2 separate regions of the Homo sapiens genome follow, and region 1 is linked to region 2. Evidence: promoter capture Hi-C in 16 types of primary human blood cells and fetal thymus (Javierre and others, 2016). All regions are on one chromosome and are shown on one strand. Each heading gives the region's core, a stretch centred on a gene start or on the middle of the fragment in contact. The rest is flanking DNA. Distances are from core to core; before and after follow the strand shown.

Region 1 (6,720 bases), core at 188-2,687, 230 kb after region 2:
CATGATACATTATATGTATTGAAACATCACTACGAACCCCATAATTATGTACAGTTATTACATGTCAAAAATAAAAAAGAAACGGATGGTTAAAAGTATGGCTGTTATAGTTAGGCCTTTTTTTGTTGAAGATAAAAAACCAATTCAATCTGGTAAAAGAGGAATTCTATGAACCTACCTAGCTAAACCTTGGGAAAGGTAGGATAGATCATTGGAAGCACAAACTCAGGACTCTTAATTTTTCCTTTTCTCATCTCTTCTCCTCTCTATGGGCCAAATTTCTACTCTTCAGATAAGATCATCCATAAGTTGGGAGGACAGGCATTGCTGAAGGAAGCTTTTCTGATCTGAGAGGAAAAATATTCTCTTTCTTTACCTTCAGTTTGAAAATGTCTATAGAAGGAATCTGATTATAATAATATAATTATAATCAATTATACAATTAATTTTAATTAATTAATTAACAATATAATTATAATTAATCAGATTCCTTCCATAATTAATCAGATTCCAATTAACAAGGGCAGGATTCCTGCCCTTATTAGCATCTTAAATCAGGGAGACAGGGTCAGCTCGTCTGATGCATAACCATGATGGGAAATGTACCTTGTCCCTGAGGGAACTGTGAGCAGGCATCTCTGTTTATGTCTAATCCAATGGCATACCTAGGGAATTATAAGTGATTTGATGTTACTGAATCTGAGGGAAGGCTAAAAGCAGATATTCTAGTTAAGAAGTTATTTTAATACAAGTAGAAAATGGTGAAGGCTTGAACTAAGGCAATGGTAGTTCCCACAGAAAGGCATGGAGATGAGAAAATTTGAAAAGTAGAATTGATAGAACTTGGTGATAGATTTCTGAGAAAAATAAGGGAGAAGTCAAAATAAAGGAAAAATACAAGAATCCCAGATTTGGGAAAGAGAAGATGGGTATAATAGTCACCGAAATAGTAATTAAATAGGATTTAATGACAGAGATTAGGATTATACAATCTCTGTATACAGAGATGAATACACAGATCAGAGTCAAGAAAGAAACCAGAGCTGGAGATACAGACTGGGAGTCATCAGACAAAGATGGTTGGTGAAGTCAGAGAGATGCATGAGATCACCAAGATAACATATACAGTTATGTATCACTTAAGGATAGGATACATTCTGAGAAATGCATCGTTAGGTGATTTTGTAGTTGGATGAACATCATAGAGTGCACTTAACACAAACATAGATGGTGTAGCCTACTACACACCTGGCCTAGATGGTATAGTCTACTGCTCCTAGGCTATGAACCTGTACAGCATGCTACTGTGCTGAATACTGTAAGCAGTTGTAACACAGTGGTCAGTATTTGTGTACCTAAACATATCTAAACATAGAAAAGCTACCGTAAAAATATGGTATTATAATCTTATGGAACTGCTGTCATATATGCAGTCCATTGTTTACTGAAACGTCATTATGTGGCAGATGGCTGTATAAAGTAAGGGAAAAAAAACTAAAATCCTAAGGACACCAATATTTAATGAGAAAAGATAGTAGAGTAAATGAATTCAACAAAGAACAATAAAAGGAAATAGTCAGGAAACCAAAGCGGTAAGAGTGTACTTAGTATACCAGGGAAGGAAAATTTCAAGCAGGGAACGTGGTCAATGATGACATTTGCTGTAGTGAAATTGAGTAAAACAATGACTGCAGTGAAATAGAATAAAACAATGATTTCAGAGTGAACATTCCATTTGGCACTTACTGAGGCTGCCGGTAAGTGTTGCCAAAGCAATTTCAGAGGAGTCAAAAGAATGATATGTGATAACAGTGATTTGAGGAGCAAATGAGAGGTAAAGAAATGGTAACAGCAATTATGGATTAACCCTTTAGAAAGTTTGCTTATGAAAGTGTCATTTAAAGAAGTCAGAACCAATGCCAACAAGTATGTTTTCATTTCCCTTGGATAAAAAAAAAACTAGATGTGAAATTGCTGGGTCATGGGGTTGTGTATATTTAGCTTTACAAGAAACTATAAACTTTTCCAAGTAGTCATGCCATTGCACACTGCCACCACCAAAGTATGAGAGTCCCTCTTGGGCCACATTCTTGTCAATGCTTGGTATTAACTTTAACCATTCTAGTAGATAAAGAGTGGCATATCATGGTGATTTTAATTTACATTTCCCTGAAGACGAGTGCTGTTGGGAGCTTTTTCTGTGTTTATTGACCATTCATATATTCTGTTTTTAATTGTCTCAAAATTTTCTGCCCAAATTTTAAAAACTGGGTTGTTGATTTTTAAAATTATTGTTACTTAATACCATAATTGTCTATATAACTTAGAAACAAGTCCTTCATCAGATATACATGTAGCAAATGTTTCCACAGTCTTTAGCTCACATCATTGTTTTATTATCAGTGTTTCATTGAGAGAAGTTCTTAATATTTATAAATTACACTGTATCAATTTTTCTTTATGCTTAATGCTTTTAGAATTCTAAGAAATCTCTGCATATCAGAAAGTCTTAAATATGTTTTCCTGTTATTTTTCCTAGAAGCTTTACAGTTTTTTTAGTTTAGTCCTGTCATTCATTTCACATTAATATTTATGTATTACATAACATAGCAGTTAAGATTCATATTTTTTCCTTACAAAAATCCTGTTGTTACAGCAACATTTGTTTAAAGACTTCCCCTTCTCTATTGAATTGTCTCGGTACCTTGTCAAAAGTAATTGACTTTTAAAAGTGTATATGTTTATTTTTGGTCTGTCTATCCAGTTTTATTGACCTACTGATCTATATTTTATTAACATCTTACTATTATGATTATATAGCTTTTTAATGAGTTAATAAGTTATGGAGTCAGTGTAACTACTACAATTTTATTCTTATTTTTTAAGGTTATATTCCAGGTCCTTTGCATTTTCATATAAAGTTTAGGTTTAGCTATCAGTTTCTACCACATTTAAAAAAAAAAAAAAAAGGCTGGGCATGGTGGCTCTTGCCTGTAATCCCAGCACTTTGGGAGGCCGAGGCAGGCAGACCACCTGAGGTCAGGAGTTTAAGACCAGCCTGGCCAACATAGTGAAACCCCATCTCTACTAAAAATGCATAAATTAGCTGGGCGTGGTGGCACATGCCTGTAATCCCAGCTACTCAGGAGGCTGAGGCAGGAGAATAACCGGAACCCAGGAGGTGGAGGTTGCAGTGAGCTGAGATTGCACTCCAGCCTGGGCGACAGAGCGAGACTCTGTCACACACACACACACACACACACACACACACACACAAACACACACACACACACACAAAATAGCTTGCTTGGAATTTAAATGATATTGCCTCAGGTCTATACATCAATTTAGGGAAGACTGATGTCTTAACAATATTTAGTTTTCCAATCCATGTGTTCGTAGACACAAAAATTCTTAGCAAATAGAATCTAGCAATATACAAAAATAAATCTATTTCTTCTTTTAGTTCTGCCAATATTTGTTTAATGTGTTTTGAAACAGTATTATTAGGAGCATACATATTTAGTGTCATTAAACCTTCTTGATGAATTGATCCTTTTATCGTTATGAAATAATTTTATCTCTGATGATATTCTTTGTCTTGAAGATTCATTTCTTTGATACTAATAGCAAACTGGTGTCACCATATCAGTCAGTGTCTTTCTTGCATATTTTTTCATCCTTTACTTTCAACCTGCCTGTGTCTTCATATTTCAAGTGCATCCCTTTTAATCTGTGTATAGTTATACCTTGCTTTTTTGTTGTTTAATTCAGTCTGCAATATTTGCCTTTTAACTATAGTTCATTTGCATTGGTTTAATTATTGATATGATGGGGTTCTAAACTATCATCTTGCTTTTGTTTTCTACTTGCTTCGTTTTGTGGATATCTTTTTCTTCTTTCTTCTCTGCCTTGAGTATTTTTTAGAATTTCCTTGTTTCCTCTATTTGTTTTTTGAACTACCTCATTGTATTATTACATTTTGTGGTTTCTCTAGAGATTACGTATAATATGCATTCTTAGTTTGTCACAGTCTAGAATTAATATTACATTATTTTATATATAACAACCTTAGAGCAGTAAGGTATGTAATTTTCACTTATATCCCTTCCTGTCATTTGTGCTACTCTTGTCATACATTTTACTTCGACATTTATTTTGAACCCCAAATACATTTTTTACTATTTTTGCTTTAGTCAATTAACTTTTAAAGAAATTAAGAAAGAAAACCAAATGTTTATATTTACCCACATATTTATAATTTCTTCTCCCTTTCAATTCAGAATTCCATTTTTTATCATTTCCCTTCAGCCTATAAAACTTTCTTTGGCAGTTTTTGTAGTGCAGAGATACTGGCAACATATTCACTTTGTTTTTATCTAAAAATGTCTTTTGTTTGCTTTCACTTTTTTACACTTCTCTTTGAAACGTTTTATTGTGATAACATGTCATAAAATTTGGCATTTTAACCATTTTTAAGTGTACATTCAGTGGTATTAGCCACACTCATAATGTTGTACAACCACTGGCATTATCTATTTCTAAGAGTTTTTTATCAACCCCCACCAAAAACTCTACAACCAACCATTAAGCCATAAGTTCCCATTCCCTTCTTCCCTTAGCCCCTGGTGATGCCTAATCTGCTTCTGTCTCTATTCTAAAAATTTTCTATAAGTGAAACAATGTAATGTTTGCCCTTTTTGTATGGCTTATTTTGCTTAACTTAATGTTTTCATGGTTCATCCATTTTGTAACATGTTTTAGAATTTTATTCCTTTTGATGGCTAAATAATATTTTTTGTATGTATATATATGCCACATTTTGCTCATCCACTTATCTGTTGATAAACACTTGGGTTGTTTCTACATTTTGGTTATTATGAATAATGCTAAAATTAATATTGGTCTACAAATATCTATTTGAGTCCCCATTTTTAGTTTTGGGGAGTATATACCTAAGAATAGAATTGTTAGATCATATGATAATTCTATGTTTAGCTCTTCAAGGAAAGGCCAAGCTGTTTTCCACAGCAGCTGCACCATTTTACATTCCCACCAGCAATGTAGAAGGGTTGCAGTTTCTCCACAACCTTGCCAACACTTGCTATTTTCCTTTGTTTTGATTTTTAATTTTTTTAAATTCTAGCAATCCTAAATAGATGTGAAGTGCTATCCCATTGTGGTTTTGATTGTATTTCCCTAATGACTAATAATGTTGCACAACTTTTCATGTGCTTACTGGCCATTTGTAATTATTTGGGAAAACGTCTTTTCAAGTTCTTTGCCCATTTTCTTTTTTCTTTTTTTTTTTTTGAGATGGAGTCTCGCTCTGTTGCCCAGCCTGGATTGCAGTGGCATGATCTCTGCTCACTGCAACATCTATCCAATCGGTTCAAGCAATTCTCCTGCCTTAGCCTCCTGAGGAGCTGGGATTACAGGCATGCACCACCACACCTGGCTAATTTTTTTATTTTTGGTAGAGACAGCGTTTCACCGTGTTGGCCAGGCTGGTCTCAAACTCCTGACCTCAAGTGATCTGCCTGCCTTGGCCTTCCAAAGTGCTGGGATTACAGGAGTGAGCTTCTGCGCCTGGCCTCTTTGCCCATTTTAAAGTTGGGTTGTTTGTCTTCTTGTTGTTGCAATGTAGGAATTTTTTAAAAATTCCAGATGGTAAACCCTATCAGATATTTGATTCGAAAACATTTACTCCAATTCTATAGGTTGTCTTTTTACTTTCTTGATAATGTTCTTTAATGCACAAAAGTTTTCAATTTTGGTGAAGTGAAATTTATTTATTTTTTATTTTGTTGCTTTTGTCTTTTGGTGTCATAGCTAAGAACCCATTGCCAAATCCAGTTTATGAAGATTTACTTCTATGTTTTCTTTTAAGAGTTTCATAGTTTTAGCTCTTACGTTTGGGTTACTGATCCATTTTCAGTTAATTTTTAGATGTGGTGTGAGACAGGGGTCCAGCTTCATTATTTTGCAAGTCCTATTTTCCCAGCACCATTTATGGAAAATGTTACTGTTTCTCTATCGAACAAAGTTGCTAGCCTTGTCAAAAATAAATTGTGCATACCAACAAGTGTACAGAAAATGCTCAATATCAATTGTCATCAGGAAAATGCAAACCAAAACCACAATGAGATATCATCTCACCTCAGAAAGACTATGATCAAGAAGACAAAATAAATGCTGGCAAGGATGCAGAGAAAAGGGGACTTATACATACACTGTTTGTGGGACTGTAAATTACTTGTAGCCATTATGGAAAACAGTATAGAGACTTCTCAAAATATTAAAAATAGAACTACCTTATGATCCAGCAATTCCACTACTGCTTATATGTATCCAAATGGGAAGCGGTGTGTCAAACAGATATCTGTACTCCCATGTTTATTGCATCATTAGTCACAATAGCCAAGATATGAAATCGACCTGTGTCCACCAATGGATAAATGGATAAAGAAAATATGGTATATATATACAAGGAGATACTATTTAGCCATAAAAAAGAATGAAATCCTGTCATTTGTGACAACATGGATCAGTCTAGAGGACATTATGTTAAGTGAAATAAGCCAGCACAAGAAAATAAATAACCATATGTTCTCAATCCTATGTGGAAGCTAAATAAGTTGACATTGTAGAAGTAGAGAGAATGGTGGTAACTAGAGCCTGAGAAGGGTAGAGGGGGGAGAATTGGAAGAGCCTGGCTAG
Region 2 (7,214 bases), core at 4,014-6,513:
AAATAACTTCAGCCGTGTAGACAGGGGAAACCTCAGTGTGCATCAAAGTCACCTGGAGAGCTTGTTAAAACACCGATCTCTGGATACCATCTCCAGAATTTCCGATTCAGGGGGTGGGGACCATTTCTAACAAATTCCCAAGTGACGCTGCTGCTGATCAGGGACCACACTTTGAATACTAGTGCCCTAGGGGATGATGGAGTGGCAACAGAGGAGACACCTGGGTTTCTAGATTATCTTGTAGAGTAGATCTGCTTTCTACACGGACTGCTCAGTTACCCCCATGGCAGATAAATAAACTGTTATTTATTTTTTTGAACCACTGTAGTTTTGGATCAGTTTGTTACAGCAGCGTAATCTATAGCAGCTAAGTCATGTTCAGGAAATTGAACTTTACCAAGGGAGGCAGTATTGTATAGTGGATGTATATGGGGCCAAATAGCATGCATTTGAATCCCAGTTCTGCTACTTCTGAGCTGTGTGATCTTAGGCATGTTATTTAACCTTGTTGTGACTCAGTTTTCTCATCTATTGAATAGATCCTGAGGGACAAGTTCACCTAGAGCTCATTCCCTTTCTAGACTATATCCAGTAGCAGGGCCTAGAATTCCCTGCCCAGTAGCCATGAGCAGGTTCCAAAGTCTGCATGGACCTTTCTGGCTTTGTCCTGATGGCTGACTATACCTACCAGTACCCTTGGTCTGAGATGTTGCCAAGGGGTGGCTGTGGGACGGTGGTGTGGGTAGAACTCAGTTGGGCAGGCTAGAGTGTTCTACATTAGACATGAGGCCTCTCTGGCGTGTGATGACAGAGCAGAGGGTGGGGAGAGATGGGGGTGAATTGCAGACCAGTGGCACACTCTCCAAAGAAGTCACATTCAGGTAGCACAGAACAACCCATGAGTGTGATGAGAATTCTATTTTTTTTTTTAAGACACAGGGTCACATTACGTAGCCCAGGCTGGAGTGCAGTAGTGCAATCATAGCTCACTGCAGCCTTGAACACCTGGGTTCAAGCAATCCTCCCAAGTAGCTGGGACTAAAGGTGCATACCACCACAATGGCTAAGTTTTAATTTTTGTAGAGACGAGGGTCTGGCTATGTTGCCCAGTTTGAGGCTTGCCTCAAACTTCTGGCCTCAAACAATCTGCCCACCTCTGCCTTGCAAATTGCTGGGATTATAGGTGTGAGCTATTGTGTCTGGTCAGAATTCTAAATTTGAGTCTGGCTCTCCAGTTGTCATGAAAGTATATTTGTTAAGTTAGGAGAATAGAACATATTTAATAGTTTGATAGCTGGATTTATGATTTTAAAATATTTAGACATTGGCAGGCAAACTTCCTTTTGAACACCTGCTCTGCCCTGCAAATTTAGGTGGGGGGGGTGGGGGAGACTGGGTACCTTGTCACCCTGGCATGAGGAATAAATGTAACAACAGATAAAAAATACTCAAAGCATGGCTTGGCACATATGGTATGTACTCGACGGCATTGAAAATAATGATGTTTATGATTCTCCTGAAATCTTAAAAAGGAAGCTGGCTGCCCTCCCTTCATCTTTCTCCATCTCTGTGGGCTGGAATGTGGATGTGGATGTAGCAGTGGTGAAATAACTCCTGGGGGGAATTTTATCTTAACCTTGACACTAAGAAAGGACAAGATGGCACAAGAAAAATAAACCAAGTGGGCTTTACTTATGATGCAAAACTCTTAAATAAAATACTACCAAATAGAATCCTACAGTCTATCTTTAAAAGGATAATATATTGTAACCAAACAGGGTTTATCAGAGGAATGCAAAGATGATTCAACTTTTAAAAATATATCAAATGTAACCTACTACATCAACAGCTAAAAAAAAATTCACTTCATATAAAAGTCATACTAGAAATAGATAGAAATGTCTCTAACTTATAAACAATATATCAGAAAACTATAACAAACACCATATTTGATAGTGAATTATTAGAAACACTAGGGTAACAATGGGGACTATTAACCAAATCAGTGACCATAGGAGAATGAGTGGGATGAGGAGGGAGAGAGGCCAGCCGAATGGAGAGTTCCAACACGTCTGCAACTCTGGAAAGAAGTAAGCTTGGTGGGAAAGAATCTGTGGGTGACCCATAGGCGAGAGTGGAAGGCAGGAATCAGATGAGATCAATTAGGGAGAGAGAGTAGGGTGAGAAGAGAACCAAGAAGAGAAGCCAGGAACACTATCTTAAAGGAGCCATGACACTGGGGAGCCAGAGACTGAGTCTGGAAGGGAGCAGACAGAGGAACAGAAGCAAAGGGAAACCTGGAGGGAAATGGCACTGAGGAGGAGGGTGTTCTTCACAGAGTCAAAGTAGAGGGCAAGGATTTAGGAGTCACGATTTGCTACTGAGAGGCTACTGTTAACCTTGGCCAAAGCTGTTTCTGTGGAGCAGGGAGAGCTAAGGGCCGTGTGGGTGGGTATTCAATGGTAAAATCAGAAGTAGAAGGAGAAAATGAGCACTTCCATCAGGAAGGGGAAGTGAGCTGTGTGTAGGCACCATGAGAAGGAGGTGAAGTTCCAGGGGAGTTTTATGAGGTTGTGGTGAAATCAGCATTTTTGTAAGTCTGAAGGGGAGCAAGCAGTGGAGAGCAGAGAGACTGACAAGAGACAGCAGAAAGCAGATGACTGATGGGGCAAGTTCCTGCTGAAGGTGGGAGGAAAGAGATGCTCATAAAAGTGAATTACTGTTTCACCGTGGAGAAAACATAAATGAAATCATTTACACTGCCATTCACTTATTAATTCAGTAAGTATTGATTAAGTTTCTACTATGTCCCAGGCACTGACCTGGTGCTGGAAATAAGATAGAAAAAATTCCCACCCTATATTATGTAAGTTCATTAACTTAAAACAAAAGGAAAACCAAATCCAGAAACAAACAAAAATTTGGCCCCTGTCAGGCCAGCGCTAAGGGAGGCATGGTCTTGGAGGAAGTGTGTGTGACTGCCAGGCACTGGAGTCCCTCAGCAGGAATGCTGCTCGTCTCAAAGGCAACACAAAGTGGCAGCTGGGACCAGGGATCCAGAATTTGAATACCCTCCCACCACATTCTATCAGAGAGTCCTTTAGGACTATGTTAATGTGAGAGAAAAAACTTTACTTCAATGGCAAGTTTTAACTATGAATGATTAGGAGAGTCTCCTTTCTCCTGAAACATTGCTCTTAGGGACAGAGTGGAAAAGACTCCTGGACATATGGGCCAGAACTACAATGCATGTTACAGAGAAGAGGTATACGCCATGTGTCATAACTAGAAAGGAGAAATGCAGGCTTGCTGTGCTTAATGCACTCAAAACCTCAATAAGGACAAATGGCAATAGGCAAAAAGATGATGACAAATACTCATCTCATTTACATCAGTAAACTTGATATCGAAACCTTCAACCCTCTGAATAGCAAGTCACTGGTTCTTTTCTTTCACTTCCCCCTCCGGCCCCTGCCCCTGCCCCAACCAATTTCATTCAGATATAGCTTAGCTGGACCAAATCTATCAAGTCATGCTTATCCTTAATCCTCATCAGAGTTCTTGAAGTCATCAACTAACCATATTGATTTTGAAATAGAAAAAGAAAAGCAGAGAAGCTGTGTTTTGACCTCTCTCCTGAAACATTGCTCTTAGGGACATATGACCCAGAACTACAACTGCAATGCATGTTAGATAGAAGAGGTATATGCCATGTGTCATAATTAGAGAGAAGAAATGCTAAATTCATGAATAGGGATTCACAGAAAGTTTTAACAGAAAGGGCCTTTGAAGTGACTGACTGTGAACTTATTTGACAAGATGAAAATAATCCATCGCAAGGCTACATGATGGATGCTCGGCTTAGTATCTGGGTGTGCTGCAACCCCACCTAACATTTTTTTCTATTATGCCATGTTACCATATTCCCATATTGAGTTACATTTTCAAATACATGACTTTTCCAGTGAATAATTGAGAGAACTCCTTTTCTGAAAAAATTCCCACATGGAATGGATAAATGAACACTTGCACCAAAGAAGATGCCAACATCAGACTGCAAATCTCCAAGACAGACAAGACAAAAAGTTCTGAAGTGAAAAGTCATCTTTGTTCACACTGTGGATTATTCAGGTTTCTTGCTTTCCCCCTGACACACATTTTTTTAAAATTGACTTTATTTTTTTAGAGCAATTTTAGATTCATGGCAAATTTGAGTGAAAGATACAGAGATTTCCCATGTACTCCCTGCCCCTCGCATACATAGCCTCTCCCATTATCAAAATCCCCCACCAGAGTGGTTCGTCTGTTACAATTGAATGTACGTTGACACATCATTCCCCAAAGTCCATGGCTTACACTGATGTTTCACATTCTGCCACTTTGGGCAAATTTATAAGTACACAGATCCACTATTATGGTATCATACAGAGTAGTTCCACTGTCCTAAGAATCTTCCGTGATCATCTATTCATTCCTCCTTTCCCCCTAACTCGGGCAACCACTGGTCTTTTTAACTGTCTCCATAGTTTTGCCTTCTCAAGAATGTCATAGTTGGTAGCATACAGTATGTAGTCCTTTCCAGTTGGCTTCTGTCACTTAGTGATACACACTTAAGGTTCCTTCATGTCTTTTCATGGCTGGACAGCTCATTTCTTTTTAGCACTGAATAATATTCCATTGTCTAGATGTACCACTGACATCTGCTTTAAATCTTTTGCCCATTTCATTTTTACCCTCTAACCATTTCATTACTAAAACACAAAACAAACTCCGGAAAGGAGTTTGTTGATGAGAAAACACTGAAAGTACGATTTAAATTGAGGAATGGAGATTTTCTGTGGATAATTGTCTATGTTCCACTTTACCAAAGAAAAATGAATTTCAAGTAGTGCATAAAGTAATTCTCGTTAAAAAATGTGGGAATAAAGAGATCAGTCCTGGGTACTGGGAATATATTTATCTCACAGAAAAATCTTGCCCACAAAATGCATCAGACTGAGATGAAATACTCTAGGGTATATTAAATTTTATTCTAATATTGAAGGGAGGGAAAAAAAGGACGGAAAGAAAAATGAAACAGGATGAAAAATAAGGTGATTGGGAGAGAGAAAAGACAGAGAAACTTGTTAACGACAGGACTTTCTGAGCAAGATATTTTTCTTCCTTTTACAAGTTGGAAGCTATTGAATAATTCATGCCAAGCGTGGAAAGGCTGTCTTTTCCCTGGATGATGTATAACTAAGCAGGAGAGAGCTTCGAGTGGGTTCACCACATCAGCCACCACTCCTGCTTCTGAGCACAGGGTGCTCTCCTCTTGAGCTCAGCTTCTGCTTTTGCAGCCAAGCATTCTTGCTGCTGCTGCCTGCCTGCCCACCCGCCTGGGCTTGCAGCCCGCCACTTTACTTTCTCCAGCCCTGATACCAGCTGAGAAGTCTCCCTGCAGCTGCTAGTTCCTGCCCAGGACCATGTGTGTGGATGCTGCTTGGGAGAAGCGGGCACTTGCTCCTGGCACTGATCCCAGCTGAGTTTCTCCTGTTGATTTCTGGACCACTGATGCTGTTGCTGAGGAGGTATTTCCCGGCATCCCTCCCCCTGAGACACCGGCTAAGGACCAGCCTAAACGCAAGGTAACCTTCACCTCTTTCCCATGGGATTTTCCCCAGCTGGGATATCTCTGCTTTCTCCTGGAACTAGGTCCTCCAGCTGGCAACATATCTCTCTCTCTCTCTCTCTCTCTCTCTCTCTCTCTCTCTCTGTGTGTGTGTGTGTGTGTTGGGGGAGAAGAGGAGACTGTTTTAGGTATTGCTCTGTCCTAGGGCTTCCCCGATACCTGCTGAATCCAATGCAAAGTGGCCTTTCCCCTGGCTCTGGAGACATTTCCGAGGCAGGCACCTGTCATCTGCCACCCCCGTCCTCCTCCTCGAGCTCCCTTTCTCCCCCTCCCCCAGCCCATTATTCTGCTTCAGCCTTTTGTGTCAGTGGCAGAGGGCTGAAGGGATGTCTTTGCCCTTCTGGCAGGCAGGACAGTGTCAGGATGGACCGCGCTGCCAGAAGCCGACGCTAGCGAGGGAGGTGTGAAGAGTTGGCCAGAATGACCAACTCCTCCTCCACATCCACCTCCTCCACCACCGGTGGCTCGCTGCTGCTGCTCTGCGAGGAAGAGGAGTCGTGGGCGGGCCGGCGCATCCCGGTGTCACTCCTGTATTCGGGCCTGGCCATCGGGGGCACGCTGGCCAACGGCATGGTCATCTATCTCGTGTCGTCCTTCCGAAAGCTGCAGACCACCAGCAACGCCTTCATCGTGAACGGCTGCGCCGCCGACCTCAGCGTCTGCGCCCTCTGGATGCCGCAGGAGGCGGTGCTCGGGCTCCTGCCCACCGGCTCTGCGGAGCCCCCCGCAGACTGGGACGGCGCTGGGGGCAGCTACCGCCTGCTACGGGGTGGGCTGCTGGGCCTCGGACTCACGGTGTCCCTCCTCTCCCACTGCCTCGTGGCCCTGAACCGCTACCTGCTCATCACCCGGGCGCCCGCCACCTACCAGGCGCTGTACCAGAGGCGCCACACGGCGGGCATGCTGGCGCTGTCCTGGGCGCTCGCCCTGGGCCTCGTGCTGCTGCTCCCGCCCTGGGCACCGCGGCCCGGCGCCGCGCCACCGCGAGTCCACTACCCGGCGCTGCTGGCCGCCGCGGCGCTGCTGGCGCAGACAGCTCTGCTGCTGCACTGCTACCTGGGCATCGTGCGCCGCGTGCGTGTCAGCGTCAAGCGGGTCAGCGTGCTCAACTTCCACCTGCTGCACCAGTTGCCCGGCTGCGCCGCCGCCGCCGCCGCCTTCCCGGGCGCCCAGCACGCGCCGGGCCCCGGTGGCGCCGCGCACCCGGCGCAGGCCCAGCCCCTGCCGCCCGCGCTGCACCCGCGGCGGGCACAGCGGCGTCTCAGCGGCCTGTCGGTGCTGCTGCTCTGCTGCGTCTTCCTGCTGGCCACGCAGCCACTGGTGTGGGTGAGCCTGGCCAGCGGCTTCTCGCTGCCGGTGCCCTGGGGAGTGCAGGCGGCCAGCTGGCTCCTGTGCTGCGCCCTGTCCGCGCTCAATCCGCTGCTCTACACGTGGAGGAACGAGGAGTTCCGCCGCTCCGTGCGCTCAGTCCTGCCGGGCGTCGGCGACGCGGCGGCCGCTGCCGTTGCCGCCACAGCCGTGCCCGCAGTGTCCCAGGCGCAAC

Evidence for each region. The method cuts DNA at HindIII sites, captures the fragments that hold promoters and counts their contacts. A CHiCAGO score of 5 or more calls a contact.
Region 1: a contact is called between a fragment that was not itself captured here and the fragment with the promoter of GPR88 in region 2, in 1 of 17 cell types (megakaryocytes). The highest score is 5.2, in megakaryocytes.

What each region holds. Positions count from the first base shown.
Region 1 is chr1:100,768,438-100,775,157 of GRCh38, forward strand. No RefSeq gene overlaps it. Among named protein-coding and RNA genes, the nearest start is that of VCAM1, 52 kb to the left of the region's middle. The HindIII fragment of the contact is 2,205 bases long and covers 336-2,540 here.
Region 2 is chr1:100,532,876-100,540,089 of GRCh38, forward strand. GPR88 (G protein-coupled receptor 88) reads left to right here and starts at 5,264. Exons shown (of 2, transcript NM_022049.3): 1 at 5,264-5,627; 2 at 6,019-7,214. The coding sequence starts at 6,092. RefSeq lists enhancers at 5,688-6,537, 5,986-6,385, 6,538-7,214 and a silencer at 6,656-6,825. The HindIII fragment of the contact is 8,214 bases long and covers 2,094-7,214 here.